Regions from separate parts of the Homo sapiens genome. Here region 2 is linked to region 1. Evidence: promoter capture Hi-C in 16 types of primary human blood cells and fetal thymus (Javierre and others, 2016). All regions are on one chromosome and are shown on one strand. The core of a region is centred on a gene start or on the middle of the fragment in contact, and the rest is flanking DNA. Distances in the headings are between cores, read along the strand shown.

What was found. Contacts are between HindIII fragments. The CHiCAGO score rates a contact against its expected background, and 5 or more counts as called.
Region 2: a contact is called between a fragment that was not itself captured here and the fragment with the promoter of MINDY4 in region 1, in 2 of 17 cell types (M2 macrophages and endothelial precursors). The highest score is 6.7, in M2 macrophages.

What each region holds. Positions count from the first base shown.
Region 1 is chr7:30,768,106-30,774,034 of GRCh38, reverse strand. MINDY4 (MINDY lysine 48 deubiquitinase 4) reads right to left here and starts at 2,618. Exons shown (of 18, transcript NM_032222.3): 1 at 2,479-2,618. The coding sequence starts at 2,541. The region is part of intron 3 of INMT-MINDY4 (INMT-MINDY4 readthrough (NMD candidate)); the gene reads right to left. RefSeq lists silencers at 2,058-2,207, 2,578-2,627, 2,688-2,737 and an enhancer at 2,208-2,502. The HindIII fragment of the contact is 5,437 bases long and covers 1,924-5,929 here.
Region 2 is chr7:31,119,613-31,125,541 of GRCh38, reverse strand. No RefSeq gene overlaps it. Among named protein-coding and RNA genes, the nearest start is that of ADCYAP1R1, 70 kb to the right of the region's middle. The HindIII fragment of the contact is 2,791 bases long and covers 2,244-5,034 here.

The sequences.
Region 1 (5,929 bases), core at 1,369-3,868:
TTTCTCTCCAATCTCATTCAGCTCTATGGGCGCAAGTGTAGAGCAGGACGAGTGGAATTTTACTGTCAGAAGAGAATGATGAAAGGAGAGAAGCGCAAAAGAGCTGCACCTGTTATGGAGGGTGCAATTATAAGGATGGGTGGGTGAGAGGTAGGTGGGTTATGGTAGGCCCGAGGGACTGTGAAAAGTTGGCAGGAACAATGCAATATAGATGTGGTGAGGCTGGAGAAGAGTTTACGTGGGGCTATGATGGGAAACAAGCTAGAAATTTTGACAGGTGGGAAGCTTGGAATTGAGATTACAGAAAGGGCGCAGTACTGGTAACAACAAGCCCAGCTCATGACCATGGGGCAGGGTGGCAGAGGGAGGATGGCACAGTCACTGCAGGAGTGGAGCCACAGACTCAAGAAGCTGGGGCAGCAGAAGAGTCACCTCAGCAGACCCTGCCATCTCCAGGAGACTATCATGACTCCCCCGAGGGAAGACCACACTTGGTGAGTTCAAGTAGGCCAAAGTGGTTGAAGGGTAGAGGGCGGAGCAAGCAGTCATGGAAGATGAGGTCTGAGGGTAGCCAGAGCCAAGTAATGGAGAGACTTGAAGTCTAATTATGATGGGAAGCCAGTAGAGGGGTTTGAGCAGGGGAATTACATGGTCTGACCTGCTCACCCTGGGCAAGTTTCTTGGCCTCCTGGTCTCACAATAATCTTATGTGAAAGGGAATACTTATACCTATCTTTCAGGACTGTTACGAGGATCTGAGACAACAAACCAGCACCTTCTAGGTACCTGGCACCAAGGTGGCAGCTCTCTTGGTTACGACTGCTGGGTGCAATGACTGCCTGTGCAAAACCCTGTGGGGAGCACGTGGTCTCTGCCCTAGAGCAGAAGGCGATGAGAAAGCAGTATACCTGGGCTGCAGTCCCAGCTCACTGTGACCTTCTGAGTAACTGTGGGCAACTCCTTTCTACTCTTAGGGCCTTAGTGTGCCCAGATAAAACATGCGAGGGAGAGGAGACCAGGGGAACTCGGCCATGTCAAGTGGGGGGTGGTGGGGAGGGATGTGGGAGAGGCTAGAAATGAAATTGAGATGGTAAGCTGGGGTCAAGCTACAGGGCAGGCTTGGATGTCAGTGAGGACACTGGATTTCATTTGTACTCAAGAAAGAACACGAGGAAGCCCTCTCTAAGAGTTTTTTTCAGTGACCCAGACTTAAAAGAAATGATGTTAACAGTCAGCTTTCCAGGGTGTGTCAATTGATATCCAACATGCAGCCAGGACAGGTGATGGCAGGTCAATTAGCCATAAAGACAGGGCAGATGCGACAAAGCCAAACGCATTTAAAATTTTTTCAAATAAAAATAAATCATAAAAAACACACAAAGACACTTTCCAAACAGGTGCACTTCAGAGACACCTGTTTGGTGTCAGAAACAGTGAGGGTGGGAGGAGGTATAAAGTTGAACACCTACGTGCACATTGTATCTATATGTCAGATCCAATGCTTGGAAGCTGCCCATATGTTAATATTAATCCTCATTATAAATCTGCAAAGAGTAGGTCTTACTTTCCTGTTTTACAGATAACGAAATTGAGACAGTGAGTAAAGTACTGAGGTTCACACTGCAAACTAGTAGCAAATATTTGAATTGTCTCCGTCTGACTTCAAAGTCCTTCCCCTTTCCTCCATTCAAAAAATTACGTGTATGTGTTTTCATACAAGACAAGTACCCATCGCCCTAGCCCAGTATGACACTGCAAGGACAGACAAAACACACAGAGTGCAGCCCTCAGTCACCATGTGCTGAATGAGCTAATGTATGTCCCCCTCCACTACCACGCCCAAGACCCCCCGGCGAGCTCCTTCCCCACCGAGGTCCCCATCTCCACCCTGAGGCCAGATGACAGCTAAGGACCTTCCAAGCTTGTGAACACTGCAAAAACTCTCCTGGGACAAGACAATAGGAAAACTTACAAAAATTAAAGCAACCACTGGAATTCCCACTGTTGACTAAAATGACTAAGGGTTTGACCGTCAAGAACTTTTCTGGGCTTTTGGGGTTCCCTCTGGGAGAAGTTCTTTCCGAGTGGGACCCTGACTTGCGTGGGTAGCGCACGGAGGCCGGCAGCCAGGCTAGGGCGCAGGCCTGCCCGCTGTGCGCCCGCGCTAGGATTGCTTGGCGCGGCCCCCAGGCCCCCTCCCCAGCTGCCGCCGCCCCGGAGCGCGGATGCCCCAGGAGGGCAGCGGACGGGGTCCAAACCGTGCCTTGCGGAAGCGCCCGGTGACGACGGCAGAAACGCCTCGTGGGAAATGTAGTTTCCCCTGTCCCGGGAAAGCGGCGCTCTTCTGGGGCATCTCTGGAGCAGGCAGTAGGTAGGGAACGGGCGCCCTCCCAGAAGCTGCAAAGCCTTCAGGGGAGACCCCGATGATCCCCCCAAATTAGAGCCACTTCCTGGGCTTTGGAGGGGGCGAGCCGTTACCTTTCTGCTGAGGAACTCCCTGACCAAGGAGGCGGCCACCTCCTCCACGAAGAGGCTGTCCATGGCTCTGGCTCTGGCTCTGCCCACGAGGCCCACGCCGGGCCGCAGCACCAGGCAACTGGGTCTGTCCGGCGCAGTATGGCCGCGTTGCCGTGGCGACGGCGGCGTCGGCGCGGCAAGAACTCCTCCCCTTCCCTGGGGCTGGCGGGCTGGGGCGGGAGGGAAGGGGTGGAGCGTCCCGCAAACTCGCGTCTCGGAGTGGGAGGCCGCAGTCAGGGCGCCCTGGTGTCGCCTAGGGCCCCGTCCACGGCTCCGGACTCGGGGCCTCACTCTGACCCTGGCCCTGGTCATCTGAGAGGCCTAGGACAAATTACCGCTCCGCTCCGAGGCTCCATTTTCCTAGACATAAAATGGGAAGAATACCTGCCTCCTTGTTTCTGGAGGACTAAACTCACAGGGAAGTGACCCCCTCAGGTCCACCCTCAGCACCACGGCCCCCTCTGGGGCCACCAACGCTACTGACCTTGGCGGGCCTTGACGGTGGGGGCAAGGAAGCCCAGCATTCTGCTTCTTGGGCACCGAAATTAAAGGAGATGTTCCTCGCCCCCTTGGTGCCTGCTTTCCCGTAATGAGACTGCCATTTATTGATCACCAAGCTCTTAACTCACGGTTGCACTTTTAATCCTTACAACTTCCTGGCTAGGTAGTTACTGTTGGCCCCATTCTTTAAAACGGGACACTGAGATTCAGAAAGGCTAAGATTTTGCTGAGGCCCACACAGCTGGGTACTGGGAAAGTTGGGTTTCTAACCAAGCCCAGTACATTTTCCCCGAACTTAGTCACCTGGGTTCCACCTTCACAATCTTTGCCACTTCCGCATGTTACCTATTGTATTCCTTTGCTTGGGCTGCCATACAAAGTACCACAGACCATGTGGCTTAAACAACACATTTATTGTCTCCCAGTTCTGAGGGCTACAGACCAAGATCGAGGTGTCAGCTGGATGGTTTCTCCTGAGGCCTCTCTCCCTGGCCTCTATTATAGATGGCCACCTTCTCCCAGTGTCTTCACGTGGCTAGCCGTCCGTGTGTGCCTGTGTCCTAATCTCTTCTTATAAAGACATCAGTTGTATTGGAATAGGGTCCACCCTAATGACTGCATTTCCACTTCATCACCTCTTTAAAGACCCTATCCAACACAGTCACATTCTGGAATACCAGGCATTAGGACTTCAACACGGGAATTTTTTTTTCTTTTTTTTTTTTTTTTTTTGAGACAGAGTCCCGCTCAGGTGCCCGGGCTGGAATGCAGTGGCGCAATCTCGGCTCACTGCCAAGTGAACAACCACCTCCCGGATTCAAACCATTCTCCTCCCTCAGCCTCCTGAGTAGCTGGGATTTCAGGCGCCCACCACCGTGCCCAGCTAATATTTGTACTTTTAGTAGAGACGGGGTTTCACCATGTTGCCAGACTGGTCTTGAACTCCTGACCTCAGGCAGTCCGCCCACCTCGGCCTCCCAAAGTGCTGGGATTACAGGCGTGAGCCACCGCACCCGGCCCAACACAGGAGTTTTGAAAGACACAATTCAGCCCTTAACCCCTATACAGTTACTTATGTATTATTTTCTTTAAATCCACATACATGTTTTACAATTTATTTTAAAAGGAAAGTGTTCCCAAGCAGTAATAGCCACAAGATCTTGGGTTTTATGTGCTTATTAAATCTCTAATACACATTAAAACAAACACAAAACCAGAAAGGTATGCATTCACCTAAATCACCTTACAACCACCACTGGCACATGTACCACACTTGGGAAGCAACTATCTCACCCTATACAGTCTCCATAGGACGTAGCTTTAATGTGGCAGATTGCACCATAATCTCCAGGCAATTTCCCCTCTCAACGTGCAATGGTTCTTTGAGAAGCCTCTTTTGAACATGTTGTGCTATGTGAGAAAGAGCCATGTGCTCTTATATGTAGAGAGAGAAGGGCAGAGTTGCAGGAGACAGTATGATGCTTGGTCCAGGGGCCCTCATGTTCCAGCTGTGAAGACACACTGATGGATGATGTGTAATAATGAAAGAATAACATGAGACAGATTTATGCTCCATAAGAGATTGTGTATCAGGGGTCCCCAACCCCCTGGGCTGTGGACCGGTATGGGTCTGTGGCCTATTAGGAACCAGGTCACACAGCAGGAGGTGAGTAGCTGCAAAGGAACATTACCACCTGAGCTCCACCTCCTGTCCAATCAGCCACAGCATTAGCTTCTCATAGAATCACAAACCCTATTGTGAACTGCACATGCGAGGGACCTAGGTTGCGCACTCCTTATGAGACTCTAATGCCTGATGATCTGAGGTGGAACGGTTTCATCCCAAAACCATCCCCCACCTCCCATGCAAAAACTGTCTTCCACGAAACTGGTCCCTGGTGCCAAAAATGTTGAGGACTGCTGTTGTGTATCACAGATAGTAGGTGTTATATAGTAGGTCAGAAGAGAGATTTCCCCCGTGGAGGCAGACGAAGGTGAAAAGAGAAAAAATCATTCATTCCTCCATTCATTTACTCCTTTAAAAATATTTGTTGAGCCCTTACCACGTGCCAGGTGTATGGGTGCTGCAGATTTAACACTGTAAAATATATGCCTTCTTGAAGAGAGAATGGGGAAAGATGCAAATGGGGAGATGGACAGAAAAAAAAATTTATAAATGCATACAAAACACAGAGCACTGCAGATGATTTAAAGGGTATCATAGATATATGTGTGTATGTATTTTAGAGGCAGCATCTCATTCTGTCACCTAAACGGGGTTCAGTGGCACAATCATAGCTCACTGTAAGCTCAAATTTTTGAGCTCAAATGATCCTCCTGCCTAACCTCCCAAGGAGCTAGGACTACTGGCATGCACCACCCTACCTAGTTTATTTGTTTATTTATTTATAGAGATAGGGTCTCACTATGTTGCCCAGGCTGGTCTTAAACTCCTGGCCTCAAGCTATCCTCCTGTCTGGAGGATAGCTTGAAGATATGCAGCTTCCCAAAGTGCTGAGATTGCAGGAGTGAGTCACTGCAGCTGACCCCCAAAAATCATAGACTTGAAGAGGGAAAAAAGCATGGAGGGAGTATAGGAGGACTTTTTAAGGCAAGCAGAAATTATAATTTTTAAAAGTTGACTGGATAAGATCACTTCGATGGTAGAACTTCAGCAAGGAAGAGAGGATGTGAGCTATGCAGAGACTTGGAGGGAGAGCACTGCAGGCAGAAGAAACGCAAATGCAGAGGCCCTGCAAGGGCGACCAACCTGAGTGCTTGTGAAATTTTGAGGCCAGAGGGAGCAGAGAGGAGACAGAAACAGGGACCTGGTGGTATAGGGCCATCAGAAGGGCTTGGCTTTTCCTCTGAATGGGGAATCCTTTGGAGAGTTTTGGGCAGAGGAGAGACA
Region 2 (5,929 bases), core at 2,390-4,889, 350 kb before region 1:
GGCTTATGGGATCAAAGGACAGTGTGGCTGCAGGACATTGGCATGGAGAATGGAATCAAGAGAGCAGCTATGCAGGATGCGTCAACCCTGGGCTCTCTCAAAGGCACAGTTCCTTTGTCCCAGGGGCATCTCTTGGGTAGTCACAGGTATTGGCTGCCTTCCTTTAGACCAGAGGACCTGGGCTGCGCAGCAGGAGGGAGTGGCAGATGAGCAAGCATTACCGCCTGAGCTCCGCTTCTTGTCAGATCAGCAGTTGCATTTGATTCTCACAGGAGCTCAAGCCTATTGTAAACTGCACAGGGAGGGATCTAGGTGCATTCTCCTTACAAGAATCTAATGCCTGATGATCTGAGGTGGAACAGTTTCATCCCAAAACCATCCTCCTGCCACCCAGTCCCTGGAAAAATTGTCTTCCATGAAACCAGTCCCTGATGCCAAAAAGATTGGGAACCGCTGCTTTAGAAGGCTGCCTCTCTGCGGTGAGTCCAGAACCCAAACAACATGCTTCAGTGCTTGTAATGTTACATGGAAAGCCCAGAGAATGTTTCAAGATCCCAACTACAGACTTTGGTTTATTTTGGGTTTTGTTTTTTGTTTTATTTTGCTTTGCTTTGTTTCATTTTGTTTTGTTTTTGAGACAGACTCTTACTCTGTCACTTAGGCTGGAGTGCAGTGGTGCGATCTCAGCTCACTGCAGCCTCCGTCTCCCAGGTTCAAGTGATCCTCCCACCTCAGCCTCCCAAGTAGCTGGGACCACAGGCATGCACCACCACCCCTGTCTAATTTTTTTTTTTATTTTTAGTAAAGACGAAGTCTCACTATGTTGCCCAAGTTGGTCTCAAACTCCTGAGCTCAAGGGCTCCTCCTGCTGGGGCCTCCCAAAGTGCTGAGATTACAGGTGTGAGCCACTGTGCCAGACCCCAAATACAGACTATAGAATAAGTTTGGTGTCAATGCCATGATTTAAAGTGAGTATCCTCAGCAGGAACTCAATGGAAGTTGACGTTGACTGAGCCAGTACCATCAGAGATGAAGAATTATGACAGGAGAAAGGTTCCAATTGTTATAACTAGATAAATGAATCACCTAATTTCTCAAGGGTAAATTTTTGGAGAATTGTAGGAAAATGGATCTGGTGACAGTATCTGGTTGCCATATTTTATTTTCACTATTGAACATAAGTTGTCTAGGTACGGTGGCCACATCTGTGATCCCAGCACTTTGGTAGGCTGAGGTGGGTGGATCGCTTGAGCCCAGGAGTTCAAGACCAGGCTAGGCAATATGGAGAAACCCCATTTCTAAAAAAAAAAAAAAAAAAAAAACAAAAAAATTAGCCAGGTGTGGTGTGGTGCACACCTGTATCCCAGCTACCCAGGAGGTGGTGGGAGGATCAATTGAGCCCAGGAGGTCAAGGCTGCAGTGAGCTGTGGTCCAGTCCCTGCACTTCAGCCTGGGAGACAGAGTAAGACCCCGTCTCCAAAAAAAAAAAAAAAGAACTTAACTGAATTCATCTTATTCTCCATTATTTGTTTCCTGTTTCTTTCCCTCTCTGCTAGAATTATTGTGCCAGCGATAACAAGATTGTCATATCTGCTGCTATGCCCCAAGGCCTGGAAGAGTGCCCAGCTCATTGAAGGCACTCAGTCAATAAGTGTCAGTAGGCTAGATGAACAGTTCTTCCATGCCTAGATCTAACCTGACCTTCAAGGCAAGTTTTCCCTAATCCTGAAACTGGACCTTATCTTTTCTGGGCCTTGTTGATGGCACATGTTTTTGTCTAGATTCTGTAGCAGTAGAGCCTGAAGTAGAGATCCTTGAGCAGGGATCTTACAGAAGGAGTGCATGGGGAGACACTGAAGGGCAGTGAGGAAGCGGGGATGGGTGGAGGAAGGAGCCAGACCTCAGCAGAATCAGCCTCATGCTGATCCAGCAGGAGCCACTGATGTCAACCACAGAGGTGGTCCCAACCAGAGGCAAGGCGGCTGGGCGGTTACCCCTACATCCCTCAGTCACTGGCTACCGGCCACCCTGGATGAGAAAGGTGAAGGGGGTAGTCTTACCCCTCAGAAATCTGCCAGCAATTGTCTGCAGAAGAGGGCAGGGTAAGCTCTTAGCAACCCAACCTGCAGCCGCTGGACTGGGGAAGGCGCCTAGTCCTGGCACTAGCAGCTTTGGGGAGGATGCATTTCCCTGTTTGCCTTCTTTTTAGAGTCTTTATTAACATTCTTAAAAATAATAAAGCTTCTTGAGATCAAGATTCTTATCTCTTTAACTTTCATGTCCTCAAAAGCATCGGATGATGGACTTAGTAAATATCTCAATGAAAATCCAAAGATGGATAGATCAGTTATGTTAGTGTTTACAATCTAGTGTGAAAATTCTTAGACACATGTTCACTTTCTAAATGACACCAAAGCCATGCTTCTTATATTTATGTGGTCTCAATAAATAAGTTTTCTGTATGATCAGAAAAAAAAAAGTAAATGTGTGCTTTATCAAAAAAATATAAAGGGTTAAACCACTGCAAAATCCTCTGTAGGACACATTCTTTCTACAGGCAATGTAAGACTAAAGTTTTTCCTCCAAATGTAAATTATAGTAAATATTTTAACTTGTTCTTGCCCTTCATTATCTCACTTATGAGTCATTGTGTGGAAACAAGCCTGGTTGGCAGAAAAATCGGAACTGGAAAGAGCTCCTGCTATTTCCAAAGGGGAGCTCTTGGCTGCTCGTGTTACCAACCAAATGACCAGAAGAGGGCAGTGCACACCCAGACGCTGAATTTTGCCCTAAGAAGCCAAGATGGGGAACTTGTTGAGGGGCAGCTTGGCTGGGGGAGGAGTGGCTCTGAGTTCCAGACATATTCTGTTGTCTGCTGCCTCACCCGCCACTCAGGCTAAGTGACTGTGGTTGGGTCACGGCCCGCTGTAAGTGTTCCTCTGCTTGGGATCTGCCTTTCTGTGCTTCCAGGTTTGCTACTGTAAACCAAAAGGTGCCTGCAACAGGTCTCAATTTAGAAGTTTATTTTGTCAAGGTTAAGGATTCATGCCCGAGAGACAGGTCTGTGCCTTTCTCCAAAGATGATTTTGAGGACTTCAATACTTAGAGGGGAAAGGGTAGCTACTGGGGGAAGAGGAAGACATTTTTAAAAGGTGTGAGTTCATAAGAGGCAAACAGTCGCATTCTTTTGAGTTTGATCAGCTTTTCTCTATGCCAGAAGGGGTAGAGGAACAGTCACTTATGAATTCATCTAGCTCAGTGGATCTGCACTTTTACCTAAGATAAAATAAACATAGGGCAGAGGAAGCAATCAGATATGCATTTGTCTCAGGGGAGCCGAGGGATGGCTTTGAGTCCTGTTCTTTGTCCCGTACCTATGAAGAGAAGCTATCAGTGTACTTTGTCGGGGTGAAATTCAACAGAACTGTTTCAGGGTTGAGACACTGGGTCCCAGAAGGAATTTCCCAGTGGGCAAATTGTGAGCGAGGGAGGGAGGGAGGATTTTTTTTTTTAATCTTTGTAGCTATCTCATTTAGCAATAAAATGAGAGACAGGTTTGCCCCCAGTTCCCAACTTCACTTTTCTCTTTGGCCTACTGATTTGATCCTGAGATTTCTTTTCCTTTCACACTGCCCCATGGGCTGGGCCCAATCTCAGGCCTGGTGTTGCTGAGAAGCTCAGTGCAGCCTGGGTCTCCCATAGGCCACAGGGCAGGCAAACCTCTCCTCAGAGCTGAGTGTGTGGTTCCAATCAGGGATGGGGCTCTAGCCAGTCATTGGGGGGCCAGTCAAAGCTGAAGATGGGGACATTCTGAGGACCAGGGCTGGGTCTGATATTTTGATTGCTTGAGTGGGCGACAGAGAGCAGTGTTTCCTTAAATTTCCCCCCAAAGATATAAATCATGCCCTTCGCAACCTAATCCTTTCCTCTGTATCCCTTTCACTCTGGTGGGAGGACTCCTTTCCAGCAAAATTCTTTCTTGGGAGCAAATAAGGACTGCAAACTGCCAGGTCCCTTTCCCAGGGAGGGGCCTTTCCATTGCCACTACATCATTTCCAGGGCCTAAGTGTGAGGCCTGGAACCTGCCTACTCCTTTCCCAGGAAGTGAGGATGAGGATGAGGATTGGGCTTTCATGGGAGAACTCTCCATGGCTTCTACCAACCCTGGGGCCAGTCCCAGTGGATTCTAGGGGCAACAGAAGACTCCCAACTAAGCTATCCAGCTCTGAGCCAGCTGCCAGCTCTTCCCCACCCAGTCATTTCCGCTGCCTGGTTCTCAGCCAGCTCTGGAGCCATGGGGCAGGCTGGGATGAGGTCTGGGCTTTGGTGAGAGTAGCCCCTTGGTTCCTGAAGGTGTGAAGCCTGCCCCTAACTGCAAAGATAAATGAGGACTGCAAAAGGACCAACCAGCTCCCCGACTCACCACTTCAGATGACTTCTAGGTCTAGAAGCCCTGGGGAGCCAGAATGAATCCCGGATCCTCCTGGGGAAAGCTACTCTGTTTTTTATAACATTGTCCTGTGGGCCAGACCCAAACTCAGGCCTGGTGTTGCCAAGAGGCTCAGTGCAGCCTGGGTCTCACACAGGCTACAGGGCATGCAGACCTCTCCTCCAAGCTGAGTGTCAGGTTCCAAACAGGGATGGGGCTGTAGACAGTCCTGGGGGTGCCCAGTCAAAGCCAAGGATGGAGGCCCTCAAGCCTTCCCCTCTCAAGCCTGGGGCAAGAGATGACCCAGCCACCTTCCTCTCAGCCAGTTGCTGGTTTCTATTCCACTCTTCATAGACCATTAGCAGCATTTGATCCAGATGACTGTCCTCTCCTAGAAACCCTTTCTTGGCTTCCCTGTCACTACACTCCCCTGGCTTTCCTCCTACATCCACACTCTGGATTTCTGTTGTCAACTGGCATCGTTCAAATATATTCTGGTAAAGAATTTTCCAGAACTAAAGACTTGAATTAACAGACTGGCAAAAGTATAACATGTGCCAAACAGGGTAAGAATGAAACTGTACATCAATAATAAAGACCAAGCTTAAAGGCAACCAAAGAATGAAAAAAAGTGTCAGGCTATTTTTATCTTCAAAAACAATAAATGTCAGTAGCAATCACAGTATAAAAGTGTTGAAAGAAAATAACTGCCCAACTAAAATACACAGCCACTTTCTGAACTCAATCTTATAAAGACTGAGTGCTCTCCCCTACACAGAACTACTTCAAAAGATTAACTTCAACAAGAAGGAAAGATTGGAAATCAAATATTTTAAGCAAAGAAGTATATTGATAGAGCTCAATAAGCTCAAACTACAAACAATTGTAGGAACTATATTTAGGATTTTAAATAAGGTATGTCTAAAAGAGTAGACAACAATAACAGATTCTGCAAATGTAAATCTTGGAGAAAGTTACACATGCTTAAGTATGTATCTTGTTTTGGAGAAGGAAAGAAGGATGATCAACTTTCAAGTTTTATGGAAAAACATAAAATTAGGTATTTTGTTAAAATTGTAAATGTAAACAACACAATTAGAATAGAATGTATATTTGCCATATCAGTAAAAGAAAGGGAAGGGAAATAAGATAATGCAATGGAAGGCAAAAAAAAAAAAAAAGAGAGAGCAGATGAGCAGGTAGGGGGTGAAACAAAGGCATGGCGTATAGACTGTAAGGTCATGAAATAAGCTCAAAATGTCCTCAGTCGCAGTGAATAACCATAGACTAATTATGCCCATCTAAACACAGGCTATCAGTTGGGATTAAAATAAATTTTTCATCAATATGTTACATAGAGAAGATATATCTAAAATATAAAAAAGACAGCCCCTTCCACTCTATGAGGACACGGTGAGAAGGCACCATCTATGAACCAGACAGCAAGTCCTCTTCAGACACCAGATCTGCCAGTTCCCTGATCCTGGACTTCCCAGCCTC